Regions from separate parts of the Homo sapiens genome. Here all the other regions are linked to region 1. The links are contacts of gene promoters, found by promoter capture Hi-C in blood cells and fetal thymus (Javierre and others, 2016). All regions are on one chromosome and are shown on one strand. Each heading gives the region's core, a stretch centred on a gene start or on the middle of the fragment in contact. The rest is flanking DNA. Distances are from core to core; before and after follow the strand shown.

What was found. Contacts are between HindIII fragments. The CHiCAGO score rates a contact against its expected background, and 5 or more counts as called.
Region 2: a fragment that was not itself captured here is called in contact with the fragment with the promoter of HOXA1 in region 1 in 1 of 17 cell types (total B cells); the score reaches 10.3 in total B cells.
Region 3: a fragment that was not itself captured here is called in contact with the fragment with the promoter of HOXA1 in region 1 in 10 of 17 cell types (total B cells, naive B cells, fetal thymus and 7 more); the score reaches 32.1 in total B cells.
Region 4: a contact is called between a fragment that was not itself captured here and the fragment with the promoter of HOXA1 in region 1, in 2 of 17 cell types (naive B cells and total B cells). The highest score is 12.9, in naive B cells.
Region 5: a fragment that was not itself captured here is called in contact with the fragment with the promoter of HOXA1 in region 1 in 13 of 17 cell types (total B cells, naive B cells, M2 macrophages and 10 more); the score reaches 15.2 in total B cells.

The regions. Positions count from the first base shown.
Region 1 is chr7:27,094,746-27,097,255 of GRCh38, forward strand. It overlaps HOXA1 (homeobox A1), which reads right to left and starts at 1,255. Exons shown (of 2, transcript NM_005522.5): 1 at 516-1,255; 2 at 1-50. The coding sequence starts at 1,167. It overlaps HOTAIRM1 (HOXA transcript antisense RNA, myeloid-specific 1), which reads left to right and starts at 1,349. Exons shown (of 2, transcript NR_038367.1): 1 at 1,349-1,643. RefSeq lists enhancers at 1-343, 1,225-1,519, 1,645-2,217 and a silencer at 1,572-1,741. The HindIII fragment of the contact is 6,567 bases long and covers 1-2,510 here.
Region 2 is chr7:25,840,823-25,843,332 of GRCh38, forward strand. No RefSeq gene overlaps it. Among named protein-coding and RNA genes, the nearest start is that of LINC03007, 52 kb to the left of the region's middle. The HindIII fragment of the contact is 6,074 bases long and covers 1-2,510 here.
Region 3 is chr7:25,858,257-25,860,766 of GRCh38, forward strand. No RefSeq gene overlaps it. Among named protein-coding and RNA genes, the nearest start is that of LINC03007, 69 kb to the left of the region's middle. The HindIII fragment of the contact is 9,868 bases long and covers 1-2,510 here.
Region 4 is chr7:25,875,011-25,877,520 of GRCh38, forward strand. No RefSeq gene overlaps it. Among named protein-coding and RNA genes, the nearest start is that of MIR148A, 74 kb to the right of the region's middle. The HindIII fragment of the contact is 3,960 bases long and covers 1-2,510 here.
Region 5 is chr7:25,893,609-25,896,118 of GRCh38, forward strand. No RefSeq gene overlaps it. Among named protein-coding and RNA genes, the nearest start is that of MIR148A, 55 kb to the right of the region's middle. RefSeq lists an enhancer at 1,652-1,741. The HindIII fragment of the contact is 3,429 bases long and covers 1-2,510 here.

The DNA.
Region 1 (2,510 bases), core at 5-2,504:
GGTGCGCACCGCGTTGGGTTGACCCAGGTAGCCGTACTCTCCAACTTTCCCTGGGGCAAAGTGGGAAGCCATGAGACGGAAATGTAAAAATTTTTAAATCGACTTGAGATTCCCCACACGCTTCATGGCAACACTCAGGTAAAGAAAAGATCAAGAACTCAGCACAAATCGGGCTGTGGAGGGTGAGTGATGAGGTGTAAAGTGTTAACCTGATGTAAACCATTAGCATGGTCAGACCGGTGATTAATGGAGCCTCAAGATATTAACAGAACACTACCGTCACAATAACCACCCCCACATACTTCCTATTTCCCAAATGTATAAAATCCTTGAAAACACACCAATCCCTGAGACTTCTTTGCCCCAACACCTCTGGGCACCCTCTCCATGCACTACAACACTAGTCTGATACAAAAGCCTTTTAAAAAAAAGATCATTATTAATTTCCTTGGAAATTAAGCATACCAGCTCCTTCCAGAATAATCAAGGAGCATCCACCAACCAGCAGGACTGACCTGTTTTGGGAGGGTTTCTTTTGACTTTCATCCAGTCAAAAGTCTGCGCTGGAGAAGATGTCTCCGATGCGGGGGAGCGACAGGCTTCTTGGTGGCTGGCGTGGAGAGGGGACAAGGAGTTATTATACGTAGCCAGGGCCAGGCTCTGGTGCTCCTGTCCATATGAGTGGTGAATGTATTGAGGCGAGCCCACCGCGCCCCCAGCATAACCCTGGTGGTGGTGGTGATGCTGGACCATGGGAGATGAGAGATTTCCAGAGTAAACAGCGGGAGCGCACTGGGGGTACCCACCACTTACGTCTGCTTCCTGATTTAACGCGTAGGGGCTGTAAGGCGCACTGAAGTTCTGTGAGCCATAGCTTGGACCACAACTTGAGTGGGAGTAGGACACCCCCAGGTTCCCGGAAGTCTGGTAGGTAGCCGGCTGGGGGTGGCGATGGTGGTGGTGGTGGTGGTGGTGGGGCGAACCGATCTGCACCCCCCTGCCCACTAGGAAGCGGTCGTCGCCGCCGCAACTGTTGGCGCTGACCGCGCACGACTGGAAAGTTGTAATCCTATGGTCCGAGGGGTAGGCTCGGGCTGAGCAGGTCCCCGAGTCGCCACTGCTAAGTATGGGGTATTCCAGGAAGGAGTTCATTCTTGCATTGTCCATCTGTCACTGAGTGACCTGGTCCTGCGAAGCCCGGCGTGACTGTGCCAACTTTCTCACTTCCTCCATGGGGCCGGAGAAGAAAAATGATATGAATGTACAGTGCGCAAGAGGGGGGGCGGGAGGGCGGAGGACGCTGGAGGAGGGGCACGTGACGGTGTCAGCCAATGGCTGAGCCTCCTGCAAAAGTTTGCCGGCTTCCGCAGTGATGGATCACCGTTTTAGTGGCATTTAAATCCCCGGCGCTCCGCCGTCTAGGTGACGCGCAGTCGCCCCCCCAGGCAGCCTAGGCGGCGGCAGCTGCTGCGGCGACTGCAAAGGCCGATTTGGAGTGCTGGAGCGAAGAAGAGCAAAAGCTGCGTTCTGCGCGCGCCCGACTCCGCTGCCCGCCCCGCCAGGCCTCCGGGAGGTGGGGGCTGGGAGGCGTCCCCCGCTCCCGCCCCCTCCCCACCGTTCAATGAAAGATGAACTGGCGAGAGGTGAGAAGGGAAGAGGGCTCCCGGCTCTCTCGGGGCGGGAATCAGTGGGCCAGAGCTCGCCGGGTGGCCGCAAGTACGCCGGCCCAGCCCGCAGCGCGCCCAGCCGGAAGGCGGGGAATCCGGCTGACACCGCGCCCCGGGTTCCCAGGCCACCTCCTCTGTTCTGAGGCTGGGCTGGGAGACCGTGGGGCTGTGAGGAGCGCATAGAACCGTGGTGGAGGGCGAGGCTGGGCCACCGGCTCTTCAAGCTCGGAATGGAGGGGGAAGAGCGCAGAGGGCTGGCTGGGAGGAACTCGGGTGGGCGTGAAGGAGACGAGGGCAAGAAAAGAAACTTCCCTTCTTCCAGGAGGGTCTTCGAAACCCTCTCCCCACAGCCCCTCTCGTCATTAGCATGGCAATGAGGAGTTTCTGTAATTCGACTTGGAGGGGCGGATGAGCCCTGGAAACTCAGAGCTCGCCGGAAAAGGCCGGGGGCGGCCGGGCTCTTCTTCCCCACCTTCCCTCTCTCGTCGCTCTCCGCCCCTTTCTCTTTCCCACTCAGTTTTGCACCGGGAGCCCTCCGGGATGCGGAGCTACTCGACCGCCGGATTTTTAGGGGTAGGAGGCGGGGGAGAGAGATGACGCTGGCGGACGTGGCCAGCGCGGGGGCCGGGCGGTGCGCTGCAGGCCATCTGCCGGCGCCCTGAGACCCAGGAGCCTCCGCGCTCCCGCGTGGGCCTCACAGGGCCGGTCCACAGCTCCAACATAGTAGCTGAACTCCCTTCGTTGCGTTCCTCTTTTTCTGGAGGGGAATGTTAGAAGAGAGAGAGAGCTTCCTTTTATAACCTTCCTCATTCTGCTGCACGTCTAGAGTGGGTGTGGGGGCTG
Region 2 (2,510 bases), core at 8-2,507, 1.3 Mb before region 1:
GCTGGCTTTTCATCCAAGGCAAAGGACATCTTCTCCACATGTATAAGAGTTTTATAACATTGAGGGTAGGAAGTGACCTCTAGTGCTGGGTCTCAATTCAGCATCCATGTTGGTGACAGACCTAAACTAGGGACCTTTACAATAAAAGAGTAGAGAACATTTTGGTATATGTGCTGCCAAAGCAAGCAAGAGTATAGAACATTTTAGAGTTTTTCACCCAAGTAACTATGCTAATTTTAACAATTACAGCAAACTGGTGCCTTAAAGGTTAATTCCTTCCCAGCTATAAAGAATTCTTTCTCTAAGCAGTCCATAAAACTTAAATTTAACTATGGAATGCCAGAACAAGCATGGTTAACTTTTACTAAATCTACCTGTGGCACTGGGAGTTTTTAATGGTCATACTTAAACCAAATGTCAATCAAAAGCGTTTACACCTCCATTTAAGAATTAGCAGTTTAGATTGTAAGGCTCCAAGGGAAATAAAATTCCACCAGTTTTCCCATGATCCCTAAAGTCACAGGAGGCGGGAACTTTTAGCTAAGAACATGAGTATCTTAGAGAAGTAGAATGAGAATGATGCAGAAAAGTTTTAAAAGTTTTTATAATAAGGGAAGGGTATAGCCCTGTTTCTCTCAAGCCCAGATTTCTAGGCCTCAAAGCCCACACATATTTGTACAGCTTCTCTAGGACTACAGAATCTCCTACAAAACATTTAATTTGGTGGCTTAATATGAAAATCATCCTTCAGCATACATTAATCTAGGGTAGGGATCTGCAAACTCTTTCTGTAAAGGGCCAGATAGTAGATTATTTTCAGCTTTGCAGGCCATACAGTCTGTCCAACAGCAACTCTGCTGTTGTAGAAGGAAAGCAGCCATATACAATATATAAACAAGTGAACATGGCTGTGTTCCAATAAAACTTTATTTACAACAAGCAGGCATGGAGCTGGATTTGGGCCACGGCCACAGTTTGCTGAACCCTGGTCAGTTTGCAGAGCATCAAGCGCAGCTGAGTTGCAAACTGGTTTTCCAGATGCAGCTGCCAACTTCCACCTCACCCATGATATGAAACCTTTCCTTCTGGTGGTTCCTAACATGCCTTTGTTTTAAAATCCGAGGGGATGTTCATGTACTAATGGATACATCACTGCCTCCTCTTATTTACAAAGTATTGTGGGGACTACTGGGATTTAGCTTACTAGCAACCTCTCAGCATAAGCAGAGCCAGGAGGCTCCACTGAAAAGACTCCTAATGTACAATTAAAATGTCATCACTGGAGATGCTTTTTTGCACCCTGCACTTGAGTTTGCTGGAAAAGTTCATATTTGCCTTTTCATTCCTCACCCTGCATTCTGATGGCTTCAGGCCTTTAGCATGGGCCATATTTAAATTGTCAAGAGATGTCAACAAATTGTGAGGGACAGCCTCACACTGGCAGCAATTACTACACGGCAATAATCAATGGGAGTCTTTTGTTAGCACTGCAGACTCACCATTGACTCAGGAAGTAAGTGTCCCAGTGGTTTAAGTGAAAGCTGAAATGGACAAGCAGTTTCACCTTAGCTGCTCAAAAGCCACAGACATACGCTTGCCCCATTAATTATTCCTACCCAAAAGACAGGGGCTGTTACCGTCCACTGTCTGCTGTCTGCTAAGGAGAGGGGGTGGCCAGAGACTCACAGACATTCTATTTACGGTGCCAGGAAATGCATCCTTCTTGCTTTCCGAGAAAGGATGATTGCCTTATTCCACTGTGATTCCTTCTATAAATAGGTAAAGGTCACATGTGGAAATGGAGAGTTTTCAAACTTTGCTCATGCTTTTTGATTTCAGATATTATATTTATCTGGCACAATGACCTGATGAATTACTCTAATGTGGAAGAAATGCCCTTTGTGACCCACAACGCCCATATTGACTTGCTCTTCTGTCTTGCATTTTTAATTTTTACACTTTTCTTGCTTTAAAGTCACATGCCTTGTACAAAAAAAATCTAGAGCTGGAAGTTGAAGTAAAATCCACTCAGATCATTTTCTGACCCTAATTTCCATAAAAAATACATGTACCTACAGTCATTTTTTTCAAGGAAAATGGAGTAAAAATACCATTCCCACTTGATATCACCTTTTCTGGATTTGCCCATATTATTCACCTAGTTAAATGCCACCTCCTCCAAGAAGCCTCATCTCATGTACAAGGTACATACAATCTCTCTTGACTCTGACCTTCCATAGGAATTTCCTGCACCTCTGCAACACCCGCATTTTCAGACATGCCTTCGTGCCTTGATATGCGCATGCCTCAGCCTCACCACTTCATCCCCACCCCTCGAGAGCAGGATCCAGGTCCCGTTCATCTTCAGTCTCCACAGGGTCCGGGACAGTGCCTCAAATGATGTAAGGGCTCAATAAATGCATCATGAATAAACAAAGTAGCTCCTGCTTCTGTCTCTGAGACTCAGGGGACCACCAAAAGCAAAAATATTTGGCATTATAAGTCATGAC
Region 3 (2,510 bases), core at 6-2,505, 1.2 Mb before region 1:
TTCCAAGAAGACTGGGATGTAGGGAGTATGCGATGCCTCTGTTCAATAGGTCACTGTCAGGAACTTCAGTTTCTGGTGTTCAGATATTTGTATTTGAAATTAAGAAAATCAACGCAGGAGGGGTTGCTGGAGGATAAAGTGGGGTGACGAGAGACCGAAGGAGGGGGAGGAGGAGAGGGGTAGAAGGAACCAAGAACCATCTGATGGCAGAACTGGGCTGAAGGAAAACAAAACCGTGAACTTCAAAGCTCAGGCCTAATCTCCCTCAGGTTAATTTCTGCTTCCTAAAAAGTTTGATCAGGGTCATAAATCACTCGGTCCACCCTTGCCGGTCCTGCCTGGTTCCCCAAGGTTCTCTCCCCGCAGCCCGCTGCAGGGGCGCAGGGTGAGTCTCCAGCCCAAGACCGTCTGAGGCTTCCCGGGGCAGGAGGGCTCCCGGGGCTGAGTGGGCGCACGGATGCGCGAGAATCCGCGTGCGGGGGAAGCGGGGAGGCGAGGGTCTAGGGAAGGTGCTGGCAGTGTTGCGGGCCAGACTGTGGAGAGATCCCGTGCAGATGCAGTTTCCATTCCGTCCGGCCTCAAAAAAAAAAAAAAAACCTTCAAGTGTGTCTGGCGTGCTGTTTGAAGAAGGTTACAGCGTGTTTAGAGATTTGCAAAGCTCTGCCGAGCAGTAAAGATTAGAAAGGCCTGCCTGAGATTTGTCAAATGACTTCCGGTAGCAGAGCCCCCAGTAAACAGGGAGGGCCCGGCAGCCTCAGATCTTGGCTCGGTCGGGGCCTGTAACTCCAGGCTGCACGGCGCGGAATTGGTACGGCCGCACCAGGCGCGCTGCGAGGAGGATGGGCCTGGCCGGGGACCCGTGGAGGATCCGCCTCCAGTCCCGAGGAGGTCCCCGTTTTGTGGCTGTAGTGATGTGGCGTAAAAGTCAAGTCGTGGACTTTTCTATTGGCCTTTCCGTGCAGGAAGCCCTAGATGTAGACCAAGCACTAATTTGGTGAATTTGTAGACCAACTTGACTGAAAGGCTCGGGGAAATGTCACCTAGATGAGTCTGACCCTCCCTAAATGAAAGCCATCTTGGAGGAGGCCAGGGAGTGAAATGGCTGGGGAAGGCCCGGCAGGTCTTCATCATAAGAGTCCACGTTTCTCAGCAGTAACGATAATATTTTAAAACAAAGCAAAACAACATTGTCAAAAAATCTAGGAGACAGTGATCACTGCGGTCAGGGGCGCTTAGTGGGCCGCAGCTCATAGGAATGCTGGGGTTTCCCAGATTCTTCCCAGACGGGCATCGCTTTCCTCTAGGAATGACAGTTTCCGCCTTGGCTCGCCTCAGAGGTGCGCATCAGAGCCAGCTCAGGAAGCCACTACCTGTCACAAAACCGACCACACCATTCTGGTTTACACGGAGCATATAGCTTGGGGTTACCCAGCTAAAATAAATAACTGAAGGGAAATTGTTGGTCAAGAAAAACAAAAGGAAAAATATATAATAAAAGGGGTATCTATTGTTGGACGTGAGACGGGTCCCTCTACACACGGGAAGACGAGGCAGAGGAGATGTTGTTAATGCCCCTGGGTATTAGATACAAAGAAGCACAAAAAAAGAAAAAGAGAAAGGAAAAGAAAAAGGAAGGAAGGAAGGAAAGAAGGAAGGAAGGGAGGAAGGAAGGGAGGAAGGAAGGTAGGTCAAGCCTTCTAGAATTTGTTACCCTAGATGAATAATTACTTAGACTCACACACGCAGATGTTTTTTCTGTGAGAAAGAGATTAATATGGTCTGTCCGTAATGTGACATACACACACAGGGGTTGTATTTCCATGTTTTAAAACACAAAACAACTAAAGTTGATCAGTGAGGGACATGTTTTTAACGGTTTAAATGTTTTATGATGGACCAGTAAAAGCAGAGTTAAATTTCAAGACATAATTGACTGGAGATTTGATTATTTCCCCCCATTTCTGAGGGGGAAATAATCCCTTTCCCAAAATAAAGTTATACCATTGATAAAAATAGCGCAGAGGACCGTGAGAGTTAAATAAAGCAGAAAAAAAAAAGACTATGTGTTGCATTGAGGCAAAAATAACGAAATTCAAAGGCAAATTAAAATAAAGCAATGAGGATTTATCTGAGGAACCGCCACGGGCAGAGGAGCAACATCTGTCCCAGATGTCAGACTTCCCTGCAACTTGATCCATGCGTTTCCACTTTGGTTTCTGAACCGAAGGAGGAGTGCCGGCAAGGGAGCGCCCGCAGTCCTGCGGTACAGGGCTGGCGCAGCCTCTGAGTGCGTGTGTGAACTCTGCCAGGAAGCTGTGAGAGCCAGCCCAGGATTCAGTGACCCTGTTTCCCAACCCACAAGGACAAGTACATGGTTTTCTCTCTTATCAATTCCAGCCCCGCGCAACCAAGTGAAAGCAAATGCACTGGACCGCTTCGGAATTAAAATGAATTGCTAAAACCACGGACCGCTCTGTCCGGGGCCCAGACCTGTCTCAACTCGTGGTATT
Region 4 (2,510 bases), core at 4-2,503, 1.2 Mb before region 1:
CATTCAATTGTTCTCCTCAACCAGCAACCTTAAAGCAGCACTGCTTTTAAATGGACCATGTCTCCTTGCAGAACATTACATCTTAAAACATACCTTTAAAAGACCATAACATGATTTTAAAACAGAGATATGGAGCGATTAATCCACAATGTAGGACTCTGTTCTGGAGGCTGAGACCGGCTGTTACAAGGTGAAGGCATTTATACAGTCGTCAGTCATCTGCACCAAAACCTGCTTTAGTGGAGGTCTGGGGATTTCTAATGGCCTCTTTAAGAATGCCCTGTTTCCACTCGAATCACTCCTAGACAGAAATATTATTCAGGTACCCATCAAACACCTGGCTATGACATCAATTAGCCAAAGCCCCAGAATGAAGGAGTCAGCAGAGGATACCAGACAGAGTCCCAGGTTAGGAAACAAGAATCTGGGTTCTAGTTTTAATTCTTCCATTAGATAGGCTGTGTGACCTTGGGAAAATCACTTGAACTCTCTGAGACTCAGCTTCCTCATCTGCAAAGGGAGATACCAATGCCTGGCCCAATTGTTCTCATGGGGAGATTATGGGGAATCAGTGAAGTAATAAATGTGAATGTGCTTTGAAAAGTTTTGCACCAACCTTGGTTTGCACCAACCTCAGTGCAAAAGAAATTGTGTTTTTGCTATTCCTTTTGCACCAACCTAATACAACGACAAGATACATAGTTCAGGGCCTCTGATAGATGAATCTGAGCTTTGGAAATGTAACCATGAGTGGAGATGAAGCACAATTACAGGGCAGGGAGAACCAACCTTCACTTAAATCATCCACCTCCCTGAAGGGTGAGAAAGGGGTCATATAAAGGCAGAAAAGAAACAGCAGAAGAAACACTAATCCAGAGAGAACGTATCAAAGGGCTAGAGGAAGTTGAAAAGGCTACATTGTCTCATTCTGGCATTTTCTTCTGTAACAAAGATGTAAAACCTCAAACTGGGTCATTTAAAACAAAATGCCAGAACAATTGCAAGGCCCCACAAAGGCAGAAACACGCACAAGATACATCTATTAATGTGTACTTACGCTGGATATTGTAGTATTGGAATGCATGTCAAGATATTGCTTTCCTGCTATTTCTGTATAGAATACATAGGAGATATCACAACAATTAGATCACTCGCATCTGAAGTGACCAATTAGATCACTCCAATCTAATTTATTTTCCCAGAACATTTTTTACACTGACGGTCCTTGTATTAGTCAGCTACTGCCACAATAATACTGTGTAACAAACAGCCACCAAACCTCAGTGTCTACATGTCAGTCAATACTGATTTTTTGTTATTGAGTCTAAGGCCGGTTCTGATGGTGTCAATTGGGTTCACTTGTGCACTTGTCATCAACCAGGGATTGGGAAGATGTATCTGCTGATTTTGGCCAGGCTCACTCATATGTTTGGGGGTTAGGCTTGGCTGACTAATACAGAACTATGTCTCTGGGAGCTCTTCTATGTGTACAGTTGACAGATAAAATGCAGGATACCCAGTTAAATTGGAATTACAGATAAACAATAGATACTTTTTTAGTGTAAGTATATCCCAAATGTTTGCTGAATCTGGCAAGCCTACCTGTGAGTCTCCCCATCCCTCTAGCAGGCTAGCACAGGCACAGCTCCGTGGCCGGCAGGGGAAGCACAGTGGAACTTGCTTGGTTCTCTGGAGTCTAGACTCGGCTGGTACTTCATTGCCTTCTGTTGGCCAAAGCAAGTTTGTGACTTTGCCCAGCCCAGATTCAAGGACTACAAAGTCACATTGAGAAGGACACACAGGGAAGTTGAAGAATTGGGGCCTTTTTGACAGTCTGCCACAGTTCCTAGTAGCAAAATCACCAACAAAAGAGCTCAGCACAGAATTCTCCAAGAAAATGTCACTTGCCCATTCTATTTTAATATCAAAGATGAGGGACTTCATGAAGTGTTCAGGGCACTTAACTACAGGGGAGAAGACTCAGTTTCTGGTTTGACTTTATCAATCATGTTCTTTGTTTTCTTGGGTGGACTACATCTTCTCTGGGGCTCAGTATTTTCATCTATGAAATGGTAAGTTTGCGCTCTTGGGGCTTTGCAGCTCTAAGATTCAATAATCTTGAATATTTTAACTTGCCTTCTTCCATCATTTCCCTATTGCAAACTCTTCTAGCCCAATTGACTTTATGACTGTATTAGCTATGCTATAACTTAAAACAGCCCATTATGGTCCTCACTGACTGCTCCTATATTCAAAGTAAATTCAATCACCAATACATATCCAACAAAAAAAATGGAAATCTCCAGGCCAAGGGGACATCAGCTCCTGGCAAGGAACAAGACCCTGGAATAAATAAATCTGCTTTGCCCAATATTTCCCCCTCTTGATTTGAAGAGAGACAGTAACCCTTTTTCTGTCATTGAATTAATTTGCTAGAAGTGGCTGTAATTTCTATATAAATCCTGAGATTGTTTCTAATTTACATGTTATATATGAATGTTTATGCATGT
Region 5 (2,510 bases), core at 8-2,507, 1.2 Mb before region 1:
TCTTTACTCCTGTCAGCCAGATTTAGTCTTAGAGCATCAATATCCATAAGTGAAAAGTGACACTTCAGCTTAGATTATTTCTCTTTTCACTGCCCTTCAGAAAAATTTTTTTTTTTTTCAGAAGAAAATAGGATTTTAAAATCACTGCTTTCTAGATGTGACCATCTCAGCCTGAGCAAGAAGGATCAAAACTCTCTTGCTGGAACTGCCTTCTCAGTGACTGAATTTTTATGAATCAAATAAAATGGTTGCTTGTGGGTTTGGGGAATGCTTTTTTTCCTTCCAAAGTCCCATATTGATTAGAATGAACTACATCGAAATTTAACAAGTGACAGAAGAAAGTGCCACCACTCTTGGCGTCTAATGAAGCTGTTGGGCAGTGCTGCCATCCAGAGTGGGGGAAATGGGACACAGGAAGTCTGTTTCCTCCTCCCCCAACAATACTCCCAGCCCCATTGGTTTGTACAAACAAACATGTGAGACCACGTGGTAACATAGACAAGTTACATTCCTTACCTCAGGTAATACCCACAAGATAGCCCCATTTACCAGCTGAGCAAACTGAGGCTAAAGGTTACTTCTTTGCCCAAGGTCACACTGCCAATATCCAAACCCAAGTCTGTCCACCTCCAAAGATCATGTGCCTTCTGCTACCCAGTGTAAATAACCCAAAAGAACTCAAAGACTGTTTTCTTTGAAGATAGGTGAGGCAGACACTGCTGTGTGCTTGCCCCGAGCCATCCTATCTGCTTCCTGTGCACACAGCTGGACTACATTTCCCAGCTCCCCTTGGGGGAAGGTTGGCCCTGAGAGTGGCGTCTAGCTAGTGGAATGTGAGTGGCAGTGAGGCCTGCCCACCTCCTGCACAGTCCTTCATTCTCTCTCTCTACCTGTCACAGCCAGATGCAGAGTACTCAGCAGCAAACATTAAGGCCCTTAGGGATGGTGGGGCCACAGAATGAAAGGTGCCTGGGTCCCTGAATCACTGCATGGAAGCTGTCCAAGAAACGCTTTCAGTGGTCCAAGAGCAAGAAATAACTTGTTTTGTGTTAAGCCACTGTGACACGGGGTTGCTTGTTAAACAGTTAGCCTTTGATACATAATACACAAGGAAAGAAAATGGCTTCTGTGAAGGTGTCCATTTGCCCACCAGGGGACTTGCCTAGTTCTGTGGTGGTGAATTTGTTCACAATTTCCCTGGGCGTCAGGAAAAGAAGACATTGAGCTAAGTGATCTCTAAGGTCTTTCCCCGACCTGAGAAAAGCCTGTGGTTCTGTGGTTCCCCTCTCTCACCCGCCGGATCCCGTCTCCCACCACTCATATCTGCAGGGGCCAGCTAAGTTACCTGGACCAGGAGGGACTTAGCCCAAACTCCTACCCACCCAGGAGTCTTCCTTCCCACATAACACCTTCCCTGTACTCTGCTGGGCAGCTATACACAGATATGCCCCCTCGGCAGTGGCAGCAATATGTAAGATGCCCCGGCAGGAGGACGGGGGGCTTCACATGGCCTTGTGCCACCTGTCCCAACTTTCCCTGCCCCCTGTGTAGCCTGTGTGGGAAGATGAGCACCTTCCTCCAAGAAAAAGGCTGGGTATAGACCAAGACCTGGAAAACTGCTGGGTATCCGAAGAGTGAATATGAGGAATTCTGCTCTTTGAAAGCACTGCTTCTTCGACTGATGTCACTAACATCCATGAAATATCATCCTTAAGCTATTTTAAGTCTACCTCCAGTGACTCATGGGATCTCCTTTTCTGTCACTGAACGTGATGTGCTCAAAATGAAGATAATGTTAATATAGGGAAAAGCAGAACTGAGAGTTTTAATGACACAGACTCCTGGCCAGATCAGGAAAGGAGGGTGTAGTTCGCGGCATTTGTGATTCCGGCTGGGTCTCCGGTGCGGAAATGAAACTCGCCCCCTGCTGGCCCGCCCCGGCGCTTTCAGAGGGAAGGGGAGCCAGGACGCCCGCGGGGATGGCTGCCCAGCTGCGAGTCACACACGAGCGTCGCCCACGCCCGGCGCCCCCGCACTGCCCATGATAGGGACCTACTGAATTGGATACTAGTGGTGTTTCTGGAAAAATCAGGGAGGATTGAGACCTGGGTTTTCGAGTGACAAATTGGTGATGCAGATGAAAAATGCAGGACCCAGTTGCATATGGTGGCAGTCTTTGGCTGCCTGGAGAGAAAGAGAGAGAGAGACCGCGCGCTCACTATCAATATGATTAACTATTATAGTGCGCAGTGTTTGGGGCTATCCATTCCTTTTCCTCCTTCTTCTATCACAGATTCCTCCCTCTCTGATTTCAGAAGGAGGAGTTAGGGAGGGTCGGGTAAGTGCCTGACCTAGGCCACTCAGCATCCCCCTTCCTCCACCAGAGTCCTTGGCCAACTAAAAACCATTCCTGGGAATCTTCTGCGGAACCCTGCCCCTCTACCCTCCAGCCTGCCAAGCCTTTTTTCTGTCCCCTGCAAACTAAAGAATCCTGACTACCAAAGCTATTG